Regions from separate parts of the Homo sapiens genome. Here all the other regions are linked to region 3. The links are contacts of gene promoters, found by promoter capture Hi-C in human tissues and cell types (Jung and others, 2019). All regions are on one chromosome and are shown on one strand. Each heading gives the region's core, a stretch centred on a gene start or on the middle of the fragment in contact. The rest is flanking DNA. Distances are from core to core; before and after follow the strand shown. Region 1 has its middle 12 kb from the start of ZNF252P-AS1. Region 2 has its middle 5.9 kb from the start of ZNF252P-AS1. Region 3 holds the start of VPS28 (VPS28 subunit of ESCRT-I).

The links. The method cuts DNA at HindIII sites, captures the fragments that hold promoters and counts their contacts. A contact is called where the count stands out against the background at its distance.
Region 1: a contact is called between a fragment that was not itself captured here and the fragment with the promoter of VPS28 in region 3, in 1 of the 25 tissues and cell types used here (lymphoblastoid cells).
Region 2: a contact is called between a fragment that was not itself captured here and the fragment with the promoter of VPS28 in region 3, in 2 of the 25 tissues and cell types used here (lymphoblastoid cells and spleen).

What each region holds. Positions count from the first base shown.
Region 1 is chr8:144,988,816-144,991,888 of GRCh38, reverse strand. It overlaps the pseudogene ZNF252P. Among named protein-coding and RNA genes, the nearest start is that of ZNF252P-AS1, 12 kb to the left of the region's middle. The HindIII fragment of the contact is 3,981 bases long and covers 1-3,073 here.
Region 2 is chr8:145,007,143-145,010,251 of GRCh38, reverse strand. No RefSeq gene overlaps it. Among named protein-coding and RNA genes, the nearest start is that of ZNF252P-AS1, 5.9 kb to the right of the region's middle. The HindIII fragment of the contact is 4,220 bases long and covers 1-3,109 here.
Region 3 is chr8:144,426,828-144,429,808 of GRCh38, reverse strand. It overlaps VPS28 (VPS28 subunit of ESCRT-I), which reads left to right and starts at 1,261. Exons shown (of 10, transcript NM_016208.4): 1 at 1,261-1,320; 2 at 2,830-2,900. The coding sequence starts at 2,864. It overlaps TONSL (tonsoku like, DNA repair protein), which reads left to right. Exons shown (of 26, transcript NM_013432.5): 26 at 473-1,034. The coding sequence ends at 666. RefSeq lists a silencer at 1,086-1,435. The HindIII fragment of the contact is 10,135 bases long and covers 1-2,409 here.

The DNA of each region.
Region 1 (3,073 bases), core at 251-2,750, 560 kb before region 3:
CTCCTGCCTTTCATTATTATAGTCACTTATTTTGTACTACCTACTTTGAAACCTCACCAGAGAGTTTATTCTGTTGCTATTTTTGACGGTATATATACATTACATTTAGAGTTACCCTTTCTAGTGTTTTTCATTCCTTTCTGCAGTTCTGTACTTTTGTCTAAGATCATTATTTTCAGTTTGAAAAATTCCCTTTAGTATTTCTTGTACTTAAGTTAGCATTATTCTGTGAGTTTTTGTTTGTCTGAAAATGTCTTTATTTTCCTTTCTTGATTTTTTCCTTTATTCTTTGGATATGATGTATTAATTGATTTTAGGATGCTAAACAAACCTTGCATTTCTGGGATAAATCCCACTCAGTAATGGTGTATAATTTTTATATATGTTTTCATTGAATGAATTGGGAAGTGTTCTCTTTTGTTTTTTTGGAAGAGTTTGTGAAGAATTGGTATTAAGCCTTTTTTCTATTCTCTAGTTCATTAGTTTCTGTTATATTCCTTATTTTCTACCTTCTGCTTGATTTGGGTTTAGTTTTTTTGTTTGTTTGTTTGTTTTCTCCAGTGTTTTAAGGTAGAAGATTAGGTTGTTGATTTGCTCCCTTTAAAAAAAAAAAAAAGTAGGCATTGAGGAAGGAGCCAAGATGGCCAAATACAAACAGCTCCAGTCTGCAGCTCCCATTGAGACCAACACAGAAGATGGGTGATTTCTGCATTTCCAACTGAGGTACCCAGTTCATCTCATTGGGACTGGTTAGGTAGTGGGTGCAACCCATGGAGAGGGAGCAGAAGCAGGGAGGAACATCGCTTCACCCAGGAAGTGCAAGGAGCCGGGGGACCTCCCTGCCCCAGCTAAGGGAAGCCATGAGGGACTGTGCTACCCAGCCTAGGTACTACACTTTTCCCATGGTTTTTACAATCTGCAGATCAGGAGATTCCCTCATGAGCCTACACCACCAGGGTCCTGGGTTTCAAGCACAAAACTGGGCGGCTGTTTAGGCAGGCATCGAGCTAGGTGCAGGAGTTTTTTTCATACCCTGGTGGCACCTGGAATCCCAGTGAGACAGAACTATTCACTCCCCTGGAAAGGGGGCTGAAGCCAGGGAGCCAAGTGGTCTCAATCAGCGAGTCCCACTCCCATGGATCCCAGCAAGCTAAGAACCACTGGCTTGAAATTCTCACTGCCAGCACAGTAGTCTGGAGTCAACCTGGGATGTTCGAGCTTGGAGGGGGAAGGAGCATCTTCTGACATTACTGAGGCTTTAGTAGGCGGTTTTCCCCTGACGGTGCTAAGGAGACCAGGAGGTTTGGACTGGGCGGAACACCACAGTGCGGCAAAGCAGCTATGGCCAAACTGCTTCTCTCGATTTCTCCTCACTGGGCAGGGCATCTCTAAAGGAAATGCAGCAGCCCCAGTCAGGAGCTTACAGATAAAACTCTCACCTCCCTGGGACAGAGCCCCTGGAGGGAGGGGCAGCTGTGGGCGCAGCTTCAGCAGACTTAATCTTTCCTGCCTGGCTGTGAAGAGAGGAGCTGATCCTGACAAAGGGGATTCTCCTAGCACAGCACACCAGTTCTGCTGAGGGACAGACTGCCTCCCCAGGTGGGTCCCTGAACCCCATGCCTCCTGACTGGGAGACACCTCTTAACGGCTCAAGAGACACCTCACACAGGAGAGCTCCAGATGGCATCAGGTCAGTGCCACTCTGGGATAAAGCTTCTAGAGGAAGGAGCAGGTGGCAATCTTTGCTGTTCTGCAGCCTCCACTGGTGATAACCAAGTCAACAGGGTCTGGAGTGGACCTCCATCAAACGGCAGCAGACTGGCAGAAGAGGCGTCTGACTGTTAGAAGAAAAACTAACAAACACAAAGCAACAATAACAACATCAACATAAAAGACCCCACACACACACACAAACTCCATCCAAAGGTCATCAGCCTCAAAGATCAAAGGTAAATAAATCCACGAAGATGAGGAAAAAACAGTGCAAAAACACTGAAAATTCCAAAAACCGGAATGTCTCTTCTCTTCCAAATGATCACAACTCTTCTCCAGCAAGGGCACCAAACTGGATGGAGAATGAGACTGATGAATTGACAGAAGTAGGCTTCAGAAGGTGGGTAATAACAAACTCCTCTGAGCTAAAAAAAAAACCATGTTGTAACCCAATGCAAGGAAGCTAAGAAACTTGGTAAAAGGTTACAGGAACTGCTAACTAGAATAACCAGTTTAGAGAGGAACATAAATGACCTGATGGAGCTGAAAAGCACAGCACAAGAACTTCCTGAAGCATATACAAGTATCAATAGCCGAACTGATCAAGTGGAAGAAGGATAGTAGAGATTGAAGATCACCTTGCTGAAATAAGGCATGAAAACAAGATTACAGAGAAAAGAATTAAAAGGAACAAACAAAGCCTCCAAGAAATATGGGTCTATGTGAAAAGACCAAACCTACGATTGATTGGTGTATCTGAAAGCAATGGGGAAAATGGAACCAAGTTGGAAAACACACTTCAGGATATTATCCAGGAGAGCTTCCCCAACCTAGCAAGATATGCCAACATTCAAATTCAGGAAATACACAGAACACCACTAAGATACTCCACAAGAAGATCAAACCCAAGATACATAATCATCAGACTCTCCAATATTGAAATGAAGGAAAAAATGCTAAGGGCAGCCAGAGAGAAAGATCAGGTCACCTACAAAGGTAAACCCATTAGACTAACAGGTGATCTCTCTGCAGAAACCCTATAAGCCAGACGAGAATGGGGGCCAATATTCAACATTCTTAAAAGAACTGGGCTGGGCGCAGTGGCTCACACCTGTAATCCCAGCACTTTGGGAGGCTGAGGTGAGCGGATTACCTGAGGTCAGGAGTTCGAGACCAGCCTGACCAGCATGGAGAAACCCTGTCTCTACTTAAAAATACAAAAATACAAAAATTAGCCACATGGTGGCACATGCCTGGGAGGCACAGGTTGCAGTGAGCTGAGATTGCACCATTGCACTCCAGGCTGGGCAATAAGAGCAAAATTCCATCTCAAAAAAAAAAAAAAAAAAAAAAGAAGAAT
Region 2 (3,109 bases), core at 278-2,777, 580 kb before region 3:
TTTTCCTGACTATAAGCATCTCACAAAAATCAGTGAAAATGCAGGACAGGAATGTGCATTTCCTGAAGAGAAGACAGGTATCGGAGCCTTGGAATCTTCTTTATAAAGGGCCCAACTCCAGAGATGGCCTTCCCATAACAGTCATATTTACTTAGACTGGATTTTGCAAGGTTTTAGCGTATGCTTCTTTCATAAACAGTTAAAGATAGTCCTAAGCTATCAAAAGCACATTTGCTGGCAAATATGGCTCTGAGAACACTAACAACAATTAGTTCATGTCCAGTTATTAACAGTTCACTTGATCTTACAACTAACTAATGAGGTAGATGACATACATTTTGTTATTATCTCCATTTTATAAATGAAGGAAATGGATTCTCAGAGAGCTTAAGGGACTTGCCCAAGATCTCTAAGCTTGGGTCAAAGTCTTAGACTTTTCAGCTGGTCAGTACATGATAGTGCATGGGCACCAATCTACCTGGGTTCTAGTTTGGTCAATTATTAGAAGTGTGACCTTGGCCAAATTACTCAGCTTCTATATGATTTAGGTCCCTCATCTGTGAAGTAGGAAAAAACGATAATAATTACCGGGATGGTTAACTTTACCTGTCAACTTGACTAGGCATGGGGTGCCCAGATTAAACATTATTTCTGGGCAAGGGCACTTCTGGATGAGATTAGCATTTGAATCAGCAAGGTAGATTCCCCTTCCCAATATGGGTGCACATCATCCAATCTGTTGGGGATGTGAAATAGAAAAAGTGGAGCAAGGAGGAATTTGCCCCTTTATTCCTGTCTCACCTTGAGCTGAGACATCTAATTTCATTTTCTCCAGCCCTGGGACAGAGGTTTATGCTGTCAGCTCCCCTGGTTCTTAAACCTTTTTTAAAAAAATATAAATTGCCCAATCTCAGCAATGAGAGAATATAGCAATGAAAGAAAAGACTTTCTTTTTTCTGTTTTTTTTTTTTTTTTTGAGATGGAGTCTCGCTCTGTCACCCAGGCTGGAGTGCAGTGGCATGATCTCGGCTCACTGCAAGCTCTGCCTCCCAGGTTCCCACCATTCTCCTGCCTCGTAGCTGGGACTACAGGCACCCACCACCTTGCCTGGCTAACTTTTTGTATTTTTAGTAGAGATGGGGTTTCACCGTGTTAGCCAGGATGTTCTCGATCTCCTGACCTTGTGATCTGCCCACCTCAGCCTCCCAAAGTGCTGGGATTACAGGCATGAGCCACTGCGCCCGGCCTAAGACAAGACTAATACACCATGCCTGCTGTATGTAACAGAAGCGTTTGCTCAAAGGCTGACTGAATAGAAAGTTCTCTCTCGAGCATGTTTGTCTCTCAGGAGCCCGCTTACCCCAGCACCTTCCTGGGTCAGTCATCCACAGCTATTTATCCATGCAGCGCTGTATCTGACAGATTGTGGAGGGTTTAGTAAAGTCAAAATCTTGCTTCTTGGGAACAGGCTCAGTGGATAACGTCTTCCACAAGAGCTCGGGAGCTTCAGTGGGGGTGATAGTGTTACAGTAGGTAGTCAGGCAGTCAGGAGAGCCCTCCCACCCACCAGGAACACCAGGTGACCATCAGGGGACAGTCAGGTAGTTGTTAGTTGTCTCTCTCAAATAAGAATTGGTTGCTGCCAGCACAAGGGAAAGGCAGTCTCCCAACAGATAGAAAAAACCTGAAGCTGGTGATCAGCAGCTTCCCAATGAGATCTTAGGAGTTGGGCAAGTGGGCTTGAGCATGCACACAGGGCGGTGAAGTGGCAGAGTTTAACCGGTTGATACCTTATTAGAAGACTCAACTGGTAAGGAAAGAAACACCTTAAGTGAGCATACACACAACTCCAGTAAACACACTGGGCATGTGTCCCCACTTCCACCCTGCACATGTGGACAGCCCACCCCAAGGGAGGAATCAGAGGAGAAGGGATGCTCCCCAACCCCCGACCGCCACAACCTTGCCAGTGTATAAAACCCCAAGTCAAGGGTCAAACCGTGCACTTAATCTCTTGAGTGGCCCACTTGGCCTTCTTCCAAGTGTACTTCGCTTCCTTTTGTTCCTGCTCTAAAGCTTTTTAGTAAATGTTCACTCCTGCTCTAAAACTTGCCTCCATCTTTCCCTCTGCCTTATGCTTCATGCCTCTCCGTCAAATTCTTTCTTCTGAGGAGGCAAGAATTGAGGCTGCAGCAGACCCATGTGGATTTACCCCTGTTAACAATAGATCACACTGCGGCGAAGGAGACAGAAACGCCACAAAAGACCCTGCAGCCCGTCAGGGAAGGAAGCCCGAGCGCCCCAGACGGCCAGCCCTACCGGGGGACTAGCGCGAAAAGCCTAACTGCGTTCCTGGAGAGAGGGGGAGGGTTCAGAGCTGACAGCAGCTCCAGGCCAGTAGTCCCACGCACACCCCAAGACTCATCTCCTTTCCTGCTCCCAGAGGGAGGAAACAACCTGGGCGGGAAGTGTGGTCCTGAGAAGTCCTGAGGCAGCGTCTGGACTTGAACTCAGCTGGATCCACTCTAGGTGCCCTTGGAGAACTATGGTCTCGGTGGTGTCCGGACGCACTGAGGCATCCTCTCTACCCTCACCCACTCGCCCGAGCTGTGCTGGGTCCCCAAAAGCCCCAGTGGGACTTCCTTGCCCGCACCTGCCCTTGCGCAGCTGGAGGCGAGGGAAGCCGCATGTGATCCTTACGGATAGCTGCGCTGTCTTCAGACGCTCAGAGCATCCCCCACTGACCTTAGCTTTCTGCCTTTCCAGCTCCTTTACAGTTGGGATGTTTTTTATTGTCGAGTTGCGCTATAGCAGAATGTTTGTATCCACCACAAAATGCCTGTGTTGAAACCCAGTCCCCACTGAGATGGTTCAGATGCGGTAATGAGGGTGGAGGCCCAAGACAGGATTAGGATGAAGGGCCCGAGGCTTCCCATTTCCGCTAGGCAAAGGTGCTGTGTGAAAACCACAGTCTGCAAACCAGGGAGCCACCTTCACCAAGAACGGCCAGCTGGCACCCTGATCTTGGGCTTCAGCCTCCAGAACTGTGAGAAATAAATTGTTGTCAAAGCCATTTAGCCTATGGTAGTCTGTTTAGACAAGTCGTAAA
Region 3 (2,981 bases), core at 12-2,511:
CCCTTCACCTCCCAGGGCCAGGCCGCCTTTTCCAGGAAGGCCCCCGAGTGCTGGTGTGAGACCCCTTCCCCACACCTCAGTTCCTGGCATCTGTACCTTCCCACCCAGCTCCCTGAATTCCTGAGCTTAGTGTTCTCTTGATCCACTCAGGCCCACGATGTACAGATTTGCAAGCAGATCCATTATGTCCTTCTTATGGGTGGGGAGACTGACGTGTAGGCATGGACTTTGAGATCGGGCACTGTCAGAGGTAAAGAAGGGAGCCACCCTTCCTCCTGTCTGACCGCTGGCTGTGCAGATGATCCCACCCCTTCCTGGAGAGTCATGGGGCCTCTCCGGAGCTCTGCCCACTGCCCCTCGCTACAGCCCTGGGGCCCTCAGCGAAAGCGAGTTTGTTCCCTGGAGCCTGCCGCGGGCACCAGGACGCCGCCGGCCCCCGCAGCGCTGAGGTCTGCCCTCTTCCCCTCCGCAGGCTGCGCCGTCCAGGGTCCCCTGGGCCTGGGCCTGTGGGACAAGATAGCCGCGCAGCTCCGGGAACTGCAGCTGTGCAGCAGACGCCTCTGCGCTGAGGACAGGGACGCCCTGCGCCAGCTGCAGCCCAGTCGGCCGGGCCCCGGCGAGTGCACGCTGGACCACGGCTCCAAGCTCTTCTTTCGGCGCCTCTGACCCTGGCGCTGCCTTTCCCCACCCTCACCGAAGCCCCTAATAAATGAAGCTGCTGGCCGGGCGCGGTGGCTCACGCCTGTAATCCCAACACTTTGGGAGGCCCAGGCGGGCGGATCACGAGGTCAGGAGATCGAGACCATCCTGGCTAACATGGTGAAACCCCGTCTCTACTAAAAATACCAAAAATTAGCCGGGCGTGGTGGTGGAAGCCTGTAGTCCCAGCTACTCCGGAGGCTGAGGCAGGAGAATGGCGTGAACCCGGGAGGCGGAGCTTGCAGTGAGCCGAGATCGCACCACTGCACTCCAGCCTGGGCGACAGACCGAGACTCCGTCTCAAAAAAAAAAAAAAATAAAATAAATGAAGCTGCTGCCTCCCTCCCCGTGGCTGCCTGGCAGGCGGGTGGGCGGGGTAAGACCGGGCTTCGAGTCTGCTGCGCCGGTTACGTCCCGGGGGCTGCGCGGCTGGAGGGAATGTCCCGAAGTCCGGGCGGGCGCGGGCGCAGGCGTGAGGGCTGAGCGCCGAGCTGCCGATGGGGACGGAGGGGCGGGGGGTCGCCCCGACGCGCGCAGGCGCAGACATGAGGGGCGAATGCCGAGTCGCTGACCGAGCGCACCCCGCCCCCGGCGCCATCTTCCCGACCGCGAGCCGTCCAGGTACCCGGGGCCCGGCCGGTGGGCGGGGAAGGGGCAGAGTGGGGAGAGGCGACTCAGGGCCTGGCACCCTCTGGGCGCGCCTAGGCCCCGGCACAGCTTCGGCTGAGCGCCGCAAAAGTCACGTTATTGGCATGTTCTAGAAACTGGCTTTCCTTGCTCGTTGTCCACTCTGCGAGGTTGTTTTGCACATTTGCTTGTGGCCGCAGAACGTCCGCTTTCGCTGTTAGGCAGAAGCTCCTGCGTGGTTGGGGCGGTTGGCTCCTCGGCGCTCTCCTGCCTGGCGGCTCCGTGACGGCTGCCGAGCAGCCTCGGTCCCCACCCCGCGGCTCGCAATGGCCTCGACCCTCGGAGAGCTTGACCCAGACGTTCCCTACCTACATGAGCGGCGACGCCCTTTCCCGGCTCTTCCTCGGCTGGGGCGCCCCAGGGCTTCGGCGCGGGCGGCCTTCCCTCACTTCTGCTCTTCTCCCATCCCCGGTAGCACCGTCCACTCCCAGTTAGCCGGCTCAGCGCTGCTCTCCCGGGCCTCTCCACCGAGAGCTTCCTGCGCCTGCCCGCCAGGCCCGCTCCTCCTCCCCTCTCCGTCTGAGTTTATCTTACTGCCCGGCCCATTGGGCCAAAAACAGGGGTGTCGTTCGTAACTCCTTTATTTTAATCCTATCTCAAATCCCTCGGCGGATCTGACGGCTCCACTTTCAAAGAGAGAACGTCTGGAGCTGGCCCAGCTTCCGTGCTAGGCAGGACCCTCCCACGGGCCCCGCTCCCATTGTTTCTCCACAGCTCGCTGCCCAACTAGGGGCACCTCTCCATCTTCATTCCCTAGGACCCCCTCTTTCGAGAAGCTGCACCTTCAGCTTGTTGGTTCCTCCAAGTTCATGCCTACTTAAAGGCGGGCTGTTAAGTGTGTTGTTTCCTGTGCCCCAAACTCTCCTCGTGGGCCATCAAACAGCTGCCTGCCGCCCTCATAACCTCCCTCAACCTCCAGCTTGAACCACACTCCACTGCAGCCCCCGCCCCGCTCTCCTGAGTGTCCATAGTACCTCACTTTTTCTGGTAGCCCCTATAGCACCCTGTGTGTTCACCATTATTGAGCTTAGGAGAGCTCTTCATGGAGCCCTGGGTCTCCAGGACCTGGCACTTACGGGCTGTCTTTTTTTGTCGGTTTTTTTTGTTGTTCGTTTGTTTGTTTTGAGACAGGGTCTTGCTCTGTCTCCCAGGCTGGAGTGCAGTGGCTCGGTCTTGGCTCATTGAAACCTTCACCTCCTGGGTTCAAGCGATTCTCCTGCCTCAGCCTCCTGAGTAGCTGGGATTACAACCGTATGCCACAACGTCCGGCTAATTTTGTAATTTTAGTAGAGACAGGGTTTCACCATGTTGGCCAGGCTGGTCTCAAACTCCTGACCTCAGGTGATCCGCTCACCTCGGCCTCCCAAAGTGCTGGGATTACAGGTGTGAGCCAGCGCCTGGCTTAGGGGCCATCTTTGAGTCGGCCCTGGCTCTGCTCCCCAGGTCTCAGTGCTGTGCCCCCCCCAGAGCCTAGAGGATGTTTCATGGGATCCCAGCCACGCCGGGCATAGGAGGTGAGTGTGGCTGGAAGGGCGCAGGCTTTCAGCCGCTTCTGCAGGGGCTGACGGGCAGTATTGGGTATTGGGGATCGGGGG